3 separate regions of the Homo sapiens genome follow, and all the other regions are linked to region 3. The links are contacts of gene promoters, found by promoter capture Hi-C in human tissues and cell types (Jung and others, 2019). All regions are on one chromosome and are shown on one strand. The core of a region is centred on a gene start or on the middle of the fragment in contact, and the rest is flanking DNA. Distances in the headings are between cores, read along the strand shown.

Region 1 (3,934 bases), core at 950-3,449, 180 kb before region 3:
CATGATCACACCATTGCACTCCAGCCTGGTCAACAGTGCTAGACCCTGTCTCAAAAAAAAAAAAAAACTCAACGAAATATTTTTTTCTATATGAAGTTACTCTCTGTAGATGACCTCTCTGCATTGTCAGAAACCACACTGCTGGGGGGTTCTGTGCTTCAGGGGCTCAGGATATGGGCTGGGGGAAATGGGGTTACAGGTTTGACGATAAAACTTGTACTGCCTCTCTCCCATTCCCAACATCTCTCTTGTTTCAGTGCGTTTGCTTCTGAGGATCTCCAGTGTCACAACAAACACATGCCAGCCCTGTTTTACAGGGAGCCCTGGAGGAGTTGGGATAGAGGCCACATTGACTGAGGGTAGTTGCCAGGGTCCTGCAGTTATACACAAAGGTCAGTCTCTGATTCCTGGATGCCTTCCATTGGTCCTGGGCATGCTGCCTTTTTCTGTGGGCTATGAGATCACAGTTAGCTAGTCTGCATTACTGTCCATCACCAGATTGCTACCCCCCAGTATGGAGCTTCCTATTTTGTGTAACTTCCCAATATTCTGTATCTTCTTTGTTAAGTCCTTAGGATAAGACCATGGCCTTGAGAGCATGTGGCTTGATCATCTTCCGAAGATGCCTCATTCCCAAAGTGGACAACAATGCAATTGAGTTTTTACTGCTGCAGGCATCAGATGGCATTCATCACTGGACTCCTCCCAAAGGTAGAGGCCAGAGGGGCCAGCTCTTGGGAAACTGCCAACCACTGCTCAGAAATCTACCCTGCCAGGCCCTCCCCAAGGCTTAATTCCCAGTGACTGTGTAGCAAAAAGGGGTAGGGAAGGTAGGAGCTCTTGACCCTTTCTACATACAAGGTCTCCAGACCAGGCCAGAGTAGAGCTGAGAATTCTGTGACTGAATTCCAGGGTAGAAACAGCACCTGGTGTTTTTATGAGTATCATTCGCCAGCTCTCCAACCTCTGTGGTGAATGGCTGGGTAAGAGAAAAAACAGTGGGCAGGGAATTGGGGACCTTGAGGTTGACTGAGCTATGTGCCCACCTCTCAGCTTTGAGTTTTTCATCTGTCAAACAAGGGCTTGACTAGAAAATCCTGTTTTCAGCCAGGCACAGTGGCACACGCCTATAATCCCAGCACTTTTGGAGGTCGAGGTGGGCAGATTGCTTGAGCCCAGGAGCTCGAGACCAGCCTGGGCAAAATGGCAAAACCATGTCTCTACAAAAAATACAAAAATTAGCCAGGTGTGGTGGTGCACACCTGTAGTCCCAGCTACTCAGGAGGCTGAGGTTAGAGAATAACTTGAGCTCGAGAGATCAAAGCTGCAGTGAGCCGAGATTGTGCCACAGCACTCCAGCCTGGACAACAGAGCCTGTCTCAAAAAAAAGAAAATCCTAAGTTTTCTTCCAGCCTGTCTCTGATTTCATTTGATCAATTTCCTTTGACTCCTAGTTCAGTGTCCCTATCATTAGGTTTTTCTTTTCTTTTTTTTTTTGAGACAAAGTCTCGCTTTGTCGCCCAGGCTGGAGAGCAGTGGGGCAATCTCAGCTCACTGCAACCTCCATCTCCCAGGTTCAAGCAATTCTCCTGCTTCAGCCTCCTGAGTAGCTGGGATTACAGGCGCCCACCACCACGCCTGGCTAATTTTTTGTATTTTTAGTAGAGACGGGGTTTCACCATGTTGGCCAGGCTGGTGTCAAACTCCTGACCTCAGGTGATCTGCCCGTCTGAGCCTCCCAAAGTGCTGGGATTACAGGCGTGAGCCACCGCACCCAGCCAGGTTTTTCTTTTGAACTAAACACAGAGAGTATGAGTTCTACAGTGTTTCTGAACATAGTTGTATTTTGAGTTGGAGCATAGAGAAGTTGGGCTCCCTGATCATAGATTCATCTGCAGATTGTGGCAGGAGTGGAGGAGTGAGGAGATGGGCAGGGCCTTCTTAGACCAGGAGGGGATGGGCAGGGCCTTCTTAGACTGTAAAGATTATGGAGACCTTGAGATTGCAGCTTGACCAGCTAGCTACCTGTGCCTTGAGTCTATCACTCAGCACTGAGGGTGGAGTCGGGCAAGTCTCCAGTGGGAAGAACAGTGAAGACTACTGGCCTGAGGCCTTAGGCCAGGCCAAGATCTGTTTGTAAGCTGGCCAGTTTTCATCCACCAGCACTCCTGACCTCACCTCTAAGAGTAAGAAAGCTGCAGTCATTTGGTCCTGAAAGAGAAGCCAGGCTGTGTGGGGAGAAATGGGAAAAAGGAGCCCTTCTTGGCTGAGGCCATTGGGATGGTTTGAGTTGGGAGGGACAGACTGTGGCTCAGGTGCCTGCTGGAATGAGGAATAGCCCTCAGACAGAAGGAAGCAGGGACTTTATTTTTTAAATTATTTTGTTATTATTATTACTATTTTATAGAGACAGGGTCTTACTATATTGCCCAGGCTGGTCTTGAACTCCTGGGCTCAAGTGATCTGCCCACTTGGTCTCCCAAAGTGCTGGGATTATAGGCATGAGCCACCACGCCTGGCCAGAAGCGGGGACTTTAAAAGGGAGTGGGGTTAGAAGGGATGGACAAAGATCCAGGATTGAAGGAAAACAAGGAAATGGGAACAGGAAATAAATTTTGCATGTTTGAGTTGTACTGGGGAGAAACAAGGTGAAAAAAGAGGCAGAAGCTTCACAAATACTATGAATAGGAATATTCACACTTGTCTCCGGATCACATGAGTCACACTGCCTTGTTCCTCTCACTACCTGATGTCAGTGGACCTCTCCTAATCCTTTCCTGCTTCGGCAGAAGCTACCCTGTTAATTAACACTGATGGACAGAATACTGAATAGATGCCCCTGGGAGGGGTGTGCTCAGGGACTTCCATACACCTCTGAGGGGAGGTAGGACGTCCTGAGTCAGTATCACCCATCACTACTAGCATCCCTCCCACCTTGCTCCCCTGATGCATTACCTGTCTGTCTTTGTGTACACCACTATAGGAGGTGCTTGTGCAGAGAAAATTCCCCAGAAGCTATAAGCTAGAATGGTTTTTAAGTGCTAAGTTTCTGGGGGTTTTGTTTGTTTGTTTGAGACGGAGTCTCGCTCTGTTGCCCAAACTGGAGTACAATGGCACAATCTTGGCTCGCTGCAACCTCCGCCTCCTGGGCTCAAGTGATTCTCCTGCCTCAGCCTCCCGAGTAGCTGGGATTACAGATGTCCACTGCCACGCCCAGCTCATTTTTGTATTTTTAGTAGAGACAGGGTTTCACCATGTTGGCCAGGCTGGTCTCAAACTCCTGACCTCAGATGATCCACCCGCCTCGGCCTCCCAGAGTGTTGGGATTACAGGCATGAGCCACCGCCCCTGGACCCTGGGGAGTTTTTTGTGCAGCAGCTGGCTCTGGGCATTGTAGACCCCTGGGAAGGATGAGGGCCCCCATCTCCAAACCAAGGAGAGAACAACTGAGTTCCTGCTCGCCATGAGCCTGTGAGCAGGAGGCCTCCCTAGAAACTTACTGGAGCCAAGGTGTAGACAGAGTCTGCCAGACCGTTCCCAGTCTTTGCCCCCTCTGGGGAAGCTGAAGATTTGTGGGAGGGGACTAGAGGTAAAGCTGAGAGCTGCTCCAGTCTGCAGAGCTTCAAGTTCTCCTACAGCAGTTTCTTGGCAGCTGTCTTCTTGGGTTTGGGTGTTGCTAACACATTTTCTTAGAAGTGGTTCTCAGCTGGCCCTTAGTCTAAGTTCCCATCAAGAGTTTCCCTATGAAACTGAAATCTGGCTTTGCCCAGTAAGAAAGAGGAAAACAATTTGGAAAAAGCCTTGATAGCTTCATGGAAACAGCTGCTCATTCAGCCGTGCAGGGTTTTGAGCCTGTTGGCCCTGGAATGTCAGGGTCCACCTGCAGACAATGTTAAGTCCTCACTGGATTGTAGGCAAAGTACTTCCTCGTCAG
Region 2 (3,886 bases), core at 1,049-3,548, 230 kb before region 3:
TCCAAATGGTCAGTAAGGACATGAAAAGGGCCAGGCACGGTGGCTCACACCTGCAATCCCAGCACTTTGGGAGGCTGAGGCAGGCGGATCACTTGAGGCCAGGAGTTCGAGATCAGCCTGGTCAACATGGCAAGACCCCATCTCTACTAAAAATACAAAAATTTGCCAGGTGTGGTGGCACACGCCTACAATCCCAGCTACTAGGGTGGCTGAGGCACGAGAATAGCCTGAGCCCGGGAGGCGGAAGTTGCAGTGAGCTGAGATCGCACCACTGCACTCCAGCCTGAGTGTCAGTGAGACTCTATCTCAAAAAAAAAAAAAAAGGCCGGACGCGGTGGCTCAGGCCTGTAATCCCAGCACTTTGGGAGGCCGAGGCAGGTGAATCATGAGGTCAGGAGATCGAGACCATCCTGGCTAACATGGTGAAACCCCCGTCTCTACTAAAAAATAGAAAAAATTAGCTGGGCGTGGTGGCGGGCACCTGCAGTCCCAGCTACTCGGGAGGCTGAGGCAGGAGAATGGCGTGAACCCAGGAGGCGGAGCTTGCAGTAAGCCAACATCGCGCCACTGCACTCCAGCCTGGGCTGCGAGACTCCGTCTCAAAAAAAAGAACATGAAAAGAAGCTCAGTATCATCAGGCATTGGAGAAACTCAAATTAAACCTACAATGAGATTATTTAATACCCATTAGATTGGCTAAAATAAGAAAGCCTGACGATAGCAGATATTGCAGAACTACAATTCTCATGTTACTGTTGGGAGTATAAAATGGTACACTTTGAAAAGTTGTTTGACATTTTCCCTTTTTTCTCTTCTTTGAGACAGGGTCTTGCTCTGTTGCCCAGGCTGGAGTGTAGTGATCACAGATTATTGCAGCCTTGATCTCTTGGGCTCAAGCAACAACCTTCCAAGTAGCTGGGACTACAGGCATATGCCACCAAACCCAGCTAATTAAAAAAATTTTTTTTAGAGATAGGGTCTCACTATATTGCCCAGGCTGGTCTTGAACTCCTGGCTCAAATGATTCTCCCATCTCGGCCTCCCACAGTGTGAAATTACAAGCGTGAACCACTGTGCCCGACTGACACTTTCTTATAAATATAAACCTATCCTATGAGCCAGCAATTCCATTTCTAGGTTGTTACCCAAAGTAAATGAAAACATGCTCATAAAAAAAATTATACAAGAATGTTCTGGCCATCATGGAGAAACCCCATCTCTACTAAAAAATAAAAAATTAGCCGGGTGTGGGATTACAATCCCAGCTACTTGGGAGGCTGAGGCAGGAGAATCACTTGAACCCGGGAAGCAGAGGTTGCGGTGAGCTGAGATCGCACCATTGCACTCCAGCCTGGGCAACAAGAGTGAAACTCCGTCTCAAAAAAAAAAGAATGTTCATACTTTATTCATAAAGTCCAAAGCCGGAAACAATGCAAATATCTGTCAACAGGAGAATAGACAAAACAAAGTGTGATAATTTCATAGAAGGGAATATTACTCAGCAATGAAAACCACAGATACGTGTAACAACATGTACTAATATAAAACACCATTATGCTAAGCAAACATTATGTTAAGCATATAAGTATAATGATTCTATCTCTATGATATTGTAGAACAGATAAAACTAATCTATACTGACAGAAAGTAAGTCAGTGGTTACCTAAGACCTGGGGGTGAGGGTGGAGGATTAACTAAATAGGGACACAAGAGAACTTTCTGGGGTGATGAAAATGTTCCATGTCTTGTTACAGATATTTGTTACTCACGTATATAAAACTCTCAAAACTCATCAAATGTGAATACTTAAGATCTGTGCATCTTATTGTATGTAAATTATCCCTCAATTTTTAAAAAGTTGTTTGAAAAAACAGTCAAAATTCTCTGGAATCAGCAACACTAGCAGGCTACTTGGCATTTTCTATCATACATGCCTACAATTTTAATAGATAGGTAGGTAGATAGGTAGGTAGGTAGATTAGATAGGTAGGTAGATAGCTAGGTAGGTGGATTGGATGGATGGATAGACAGACAGACAGACAGACAGACAGACAGACAGAGGCAGGGTCTTGCTCTGTTGCCCAGGCTGGAGTACAGTGCAAGACCACAGCTCCTACAGCCTTGACCTCCTGGGCTCAAGCAATCCTCCCACCTCAGCCTCCCAAGTAGCTGGGACCACAGGTGCACATCACCATGCCTGGCTAATTAAAAAAAAAAATTTTATAGACCAGGCATGGTGGCTCACACCTATAATCCTAGCACTTTGGGAGACTGAAGCAGGAGGATTGCTTGAGCCCAGAAATTCAAGACTAGCCTGGGTAACATGGCAAAACCCCATCTCTAAAAAAATACAGAAATATTAGCTGGGCGTGGTGGCAGGCACCTGCAGTCCCAGCTACTCAGGAGGCTGAGATGGGAGGATTGCTTGAACCTGAGAGGCAGAAGTTGCAGTGAGCCAAGATTGCACCACTGCACTTTGGCCTGGGTGACAGAGTGAGACCCTGTCTCAAAAATATAAAATAAAATAAAATAAATATTTTTTGGTGTGTGTGGAGATAGGGTCTCCTTATGTTGCCCAGACTGGTCTCAAACTCTTGGGCTCAAGCTATCCTCCTGTCTTGGCCTCCCAAAGTGCTTGGATTACAGGTGCAAGCCACCACATGTGGCCCATGCCTATATTTTAAATACTTATGCAACAGAGGCCCTTACTATCATTCCTGTCCCATTCAACGTTTATTAAGTGTGAATAATAACTTAAAAATACATCTGGCCGGGCGCGATGGCTCACACCTGTAATCCCAGCACTTTGGGAGGCCGAGGCGGGCGGATCACGAGGTCAGGAGATCGAGACCATCCTGACTAACACAGTGAAACCCCGTCTCTACTAAAAATACAAAAAATTAGCCAGGCATGGTGGTGGGCGCCTGTAGTCCCAGCTACTCAGGAGGCTGAGGCAGGAGAATGGCGTGAACCCGGGAGGCAGAGCTTGCAGTGCACCGAGGTGGCGCCACTGCACTCCAGCCTGGGCGACAGAGTGAGACTCTGTCTCAAAAAAAAAAAAAAAAACATCTATGAGGCCGGGCGTGGTGGCTCACGCCTGTAATCCCAGTACTTTGGGAGGCCGAGGCGGGCGGATCACGAGGTCAGGAGATGGAGACCATCCTGGCTAACACGGTGAAACCCCATCTCTACTAAAAATACAAAAAAATTAGCCGGGCGTGGTGGCGGGCGCCTGTAGTCCCAGCTACTTGGGAGGCTGAGGCAGGCTGAGGTAGGAGAATGGCGTGAATGTGGGAGGCAGAGCTTGCAGTGAGCTGAGATCACGCCACTGCACTCCAGCCTGGGCGACAGAGCAAGACTCCATCTCAAAAAAAAAAAAAATACATCTATGAAAAATTGATAAGTGATATTCACTTATCTATCTGATTCCAAAGAAAAAATTAACTAAACTATAGCCAGAATACATAATTCCTATCATCAAAGTTCAGACTAACTCCAACCACCTGAACCTTTTTCTTCTGAGGACTTTGATGGGATAATATTGTTAAAAGCTTAATTTTTCTTTTTTTTTTAACACCCTTTCACTATCTATCACAATATATTTTTCCACTAGACACAGAGAAATAATATCATCAATGTAAGAGGAAATTTTACTGCAAATTTCTAAATCCTTGGTAAATCCTATAGAGATACTGCATGTTTTCAGAAGAATCTAAATTTATTAGCTCAAAACACAAATTCATGTTTAAGTCAAAAGTACTGAAAAGCATGTGATATTTATAAAGAAATATGGCCTAATGGAAAATAGAAAATAAAAAGCAAAAAAAGCAAATAATCATTATCGTACCCATTGAAAATATGCTGAATAAGTGGGTGAGTAGTCTTC
Region 3 (3,823 bases), core at 925-3,424:
GGTACCCAGCCCAGCCTTAGCACCCAGCATGTGACCCCACTCCTGATCAGGTCCCAGCATCTTCCCTTCTTGTTCTGTTCCTTAAGGTCCCAGCACCTTACCCCAGGACTTGGTCTTCAACCACCATTACCCCTCTAACTTTGCACAAATAAACCTGTGTAGAAACCCACCCCACACCTTTAATTGTGCTACCACAGGGCCCTCAGGAAGAGAAGAAAACCTCAGGGTAGAGCCATAGTTCCATTTATTATCCAGCAAACACTGGGAGGACCAGGGGAGGGGCCCAGCCTGGACACCCTCCTATTATTGCCATGGGTTCCAGTTTGCTTCCCCAGCCTAGAGGGCCTAGAGGTGCTCAGCCTAGGGAAAGAGTGGACCCGGCCCCTGACCCTTGGCCCTTGGGATGGAGCATAGTCCAGATGGCCCTGGCTCTAGCACCAACTCATAAGCCCCCACCCCAGGCCCATCTCCTTAGGGCCACTGAGCTCCTATTGGAGCCAAGCTGGCTAGACTCTGGGCCGCTGGGTCCAGCTCCAAGCAGGCGGACTCTTGAGTTCTGGACCCCAGGCTGGCTGAACTCTGGGATCCTAATTCCAGGCTCTAGGTGAGGTGGACTTAGGTCCTGGGCTCCAGGCTAGGCCAGGGGCCTTCAGGGCTGCAGCAGGTAGCTGCCTTCATGGCTGGGCTTCTGGGGTGGTGGGGCCTTCTCAGGACAGGGGCCAGGGCTGGAGTTGGGACTGGATTCAGAGAGAGAGTCAACGTCGGCAGAGCGAGAATGGCAGGCCCAGCAGAGGATGACCCAGAGCAGCAGCAGCAAGAAGCCCACGAGACCGTTGCAGACGATGGCGATGAGGGCCCCCTGGGAGATGGCTGCCCCCATGACAGGCAGCACCCTCAGACCAGCACAGACAGTGGAGCTGCCTCAATGGTGAGGCCCATGCCGAGGCAGGACTCTGGTATGGCCGGCCTTCAGAGGAGGCTGTGCTGTCTGCACGCTCAGTGATTCCTGGGCAGTGGAGATGTCTACCTGCAGTCCTGAGCCTGTTGGGGGTATACAGTAAAGGAGAGGGTGGTGAGGAGGAAGGGTGGGGTGAGGCCTAGGAGGAGAGAGGTAGGGAAGAGAGCCTCCCTCCCACATTTCTGGCCTCCCTGGTGAAAGACCTTGGGTCCCAACAGGCTCGAATACCCCACAGAGCCATCACCCCCATCCACAGGCTTGGTTCTGGCCACCTGAATGAGTGTGTAGCCACCGTGGGGAAGCTGCAGTAGGCAGCCGTCATCTCATTCTCCTTAGACCTGGTGGGCATGCCCTGGTCCTGCCCACCAAGCTTGCAGCCCTCAAAAGCCCTCTGTTGGTGGGTGGGATCCAGGAAGCCCCCAGCCCAAAAGGATGGGGGTTGTAAGCAGCTCTGGTGTGGCCTGGGCGCCTCCTCTCTCCCAGGACTCCAGCCAGCCCGACCAGGAGACCTCCAGAGGCGCCAGCTTGCACAGAGGGAACTTTGTGGAGGCCCTGGCAGGCATGTGCAGGCTCTGTGCGTCCAGGGCTGTGTGCCTCTATGTGGGGCTGCCTCTCTGGGTCAGGTGTGTGTGTGTGTCTGGTGTCTCACTGTCCCTCCGTTGGATGTGTGCCTGTGCCTCTGCACACCCACCTCTGTGTGTGTGGCTGCCTCTCCGTGTGTCCCCATCTCTGAGTATGTCTCCTCTATGTCTCATTTCTCTACCAGTGTGTCTCTGTGTATCTCTGCATCAGTCTCTGTGTCTCTCTCTCTCTTCCAGGCTGTATCCCCCTCTGTTCCCATGGACGTGTCCCTATCCCCTTCTCCGTGGGGTCTTTTCGGTGGTTCCTGTGTCTCTGTCTTTGTGTTCGTCTCTCTCCGCGGCAGTGTGTCTCTGTCTCTTTATCTCCATCTTCGGGTCGCGTGTTCTTGGCCCCCGTGCCCGTGGCGGGAGGCCCTTCTTACCTGAGTTGAGCCTGGTGCGCGCCCGCGGGAGGGTCCGGGGCAGCGGGATGCTCGGCGCCGACTAAGGCTTGGGAGCCTGCGGGCGGGGGGCGGCGGGAGGTGGGAGACCAGCAGAGGCGACGTCCGCTCCCCCGGCCCTCCCCCTCGGCCGCGCAGCCTCCACCGGCCGCTCCCGCCGCGGCGCGACCGGGGCGGCCTCTGCCGCGGGCGGTCTGCGGTGAGCGGGCACCTCCTCCCCTTGGGGCCGCACCTCCTCCGCGGCCGCGGCGCTCGCTCGCTCGGCAGCGCTCGGGCGGCGGCGGCGGGAGCTGCGCGGTGTTCGGCTGGGCTCGGCTGCGTTCGGTTGGGCTCGGCTGGGCTCGGCTACGTTCGGCTGGGCTCGGCCGGGCTCGGCGGCCAGCAAAAACAGCGAAGAGCCTCGCCTCCTGGGAGGCCGGCGGCCTGCGGCCCGGGGGCGGAGCCATCCCAGCGCCGCTGCCGCCACTCAATTGGCTGGCCGAACCCCGGTTCCCGCACCATTGGTGGTGCGCTGAGGTGGGGACCAGCCCGCCTCTCGTGCCGGCGCGGGGCGGGAGGAGGGCCGAAGGAGTAGCTGGCCCTGGATCCTTCCCGGGAGAGGGGATGGGGTGGGGGCAAGGCCTAACCTCTGGTAGGGATTTCTTGCACCTTCTACACCTGGAAGGGTTGTACACCCCACATCCGAGAAAGGCCAAGGCCTCTGCATTTCCACATGTGAGGAAACCACCCCTCTGTATCTGGGAGAGGTCTCTTAAGTAAGTCATCCGGAGGAAGGCCCCGCGTCCCCACACCTGGCAGGAGACTGAATCTCCTCACCTAGGGAACCGCCTATAGTGCAGTCCCGCACTTCCCTCTGCCACCTGGGTGTGGACTCTGCATTCCCACTTTAGAGGGCCCCAGGTTCCCTGGCCCTAAGAGGTGTGAAAATCTCTGGCAACACAGGTTCTTTGGACACATTTACTGAGTTCCTACCCAGTGTTGGTCGCAGGCTTGCTGCCAGGCTGTTGGGGAGTCTGGGACAGAAATGGAGTGTCCTGAGCGATGGTTCTGCCCTGGCTGGAATAGGTGCAGGCGTGGTGGAAATCCTGCCTTGCCATCCTAAAAGCTCCCCTAAGAAGAAGATAGCTTGGACAGGAGCAGTGAGGTAGACCTTGTCCTCCCCGACCTTCACAGGCCAGTGATTGTCACCTATTCTGATCCGGCCGTCTTCTCATCCCGCTCTACATGCTCTCCTTGGAGGATCACATCCCTGAAGCTATATCATGAAGACTCCCAGTGCTCCCAAGTCTAGCCTTAACTTCTCTCTGGAATCCTAGACTCATATAACTAAGTGCCTACTGTAATCGGGGCAGTATTGATTCCTGGTTCACTTACTAACTTTGTGATCTTGAGCAAGTTACTAAATCTCTCTTAGCCTCAGCTTCCTCATCTGTAAAATGGTTGTAATGCTACCTCTCAGGGTTGTTATTCACTAATTTATAGCAGATCGATCACATCTCAGCAAATGCCAGCTGACACAACCCCCAGGACCATGTGACTAAGAGGCCCCTTCCCCCAATCCAATGCCATGAAATTCACATAAGACCCCTGTAAATCCAGATGCTATCTTGAAAGAAGAAAGGGAAGACTGAGTCATCCAAAGCTACCAAAGTACTTAGAGACTGTCTAAAATAAATTATTGGATCCTATAGAGTTTACCAGAGTGGATTACTTTTAGCTCCCCCCCACTGCCCATTACCCAGCAGGGTGAGGGCATTGTGAGAAAGATCAGCCTAGTTATAGGAAACAGAGGAGACTTAAATCATCGCACATCTGAGTGTAATGTGAGCGAATTTTGTGACCCA

What was found. Contacts are between HindIII fragments. The study calls those that stand out against the background at their distance.
Region 1: a contact is called between a fragment that was not itself captured here and the fragment with the promoter of ENHO in region 3, in 4 of the 25 tissues and cell types used here (IMR-90 fibroblasts, dorsolateral prefrontal cortex, hippocampus and 1 more).
Region 2: a contact is called between a fragment that was not itself captured here and the fragment with the promoter of ENHO in region 3, in 2 of the 25 tissues and cell types used here (mesenchymal stem cells and mesendoderm cells).

The regions. Positions count from the first base shown.
Region 1 is chr9:34,338,456-34,342,389 of GRCh38, forward strand. It overlaps NUDT2 (nudix hydrolase 2), which reads left to right. Exons shown (of 5, transcript NM_001161.5): 3 at 258-392; 4 at 569-711. The coding sequence starts at 585. Among named protein-coding and RNA genes, the nearest start is that of NUDT2, 11 kb to the left of the region's middle. The HindIII fragment of the contact is 7,642 bases long and covers 1-3,934 here.
Region 2 is chr9:34,293,170-34,297,055 of GRCh38, forward strand. It overlaps KIF24 (kinesin family member 24), which reads right to left. Exons shown (of 13, transcript NM_194313.4): 4 at 3,848-3,886. Among named protein-coding and RNA genes, the nearest start is that of KIF24, 34 kb to the right of the region's middle. The HindIII fragment of the contact is 6,110 bases long and covers 1-3,886 here.
Region 3 is chr9:34,520,816-34,524,638 of GRCh38, forward strand. It overlaps ENHO (energy homeostasis associated), which reads right to left and starts at 2,175. Exons shown (of 2, transcript NM_198573.3): 1 at 1,962-2,175; 2 at 228-1,041. The coding sequence starts at 880. The coding sequence ends at 650. It overlaps DNAI1 (dynein axonemal intermediate chain 1), which reads left to right. Exons shown (of 20, transcript NM_012144.4): 20 at 1-169. RefSeq lists an enhancer at 919-1,471 and silencers at 2,101-2,210, 2,231-2,600. The HindIII fragment of the contact is 6,325 bases long and covers 1-3,823 here.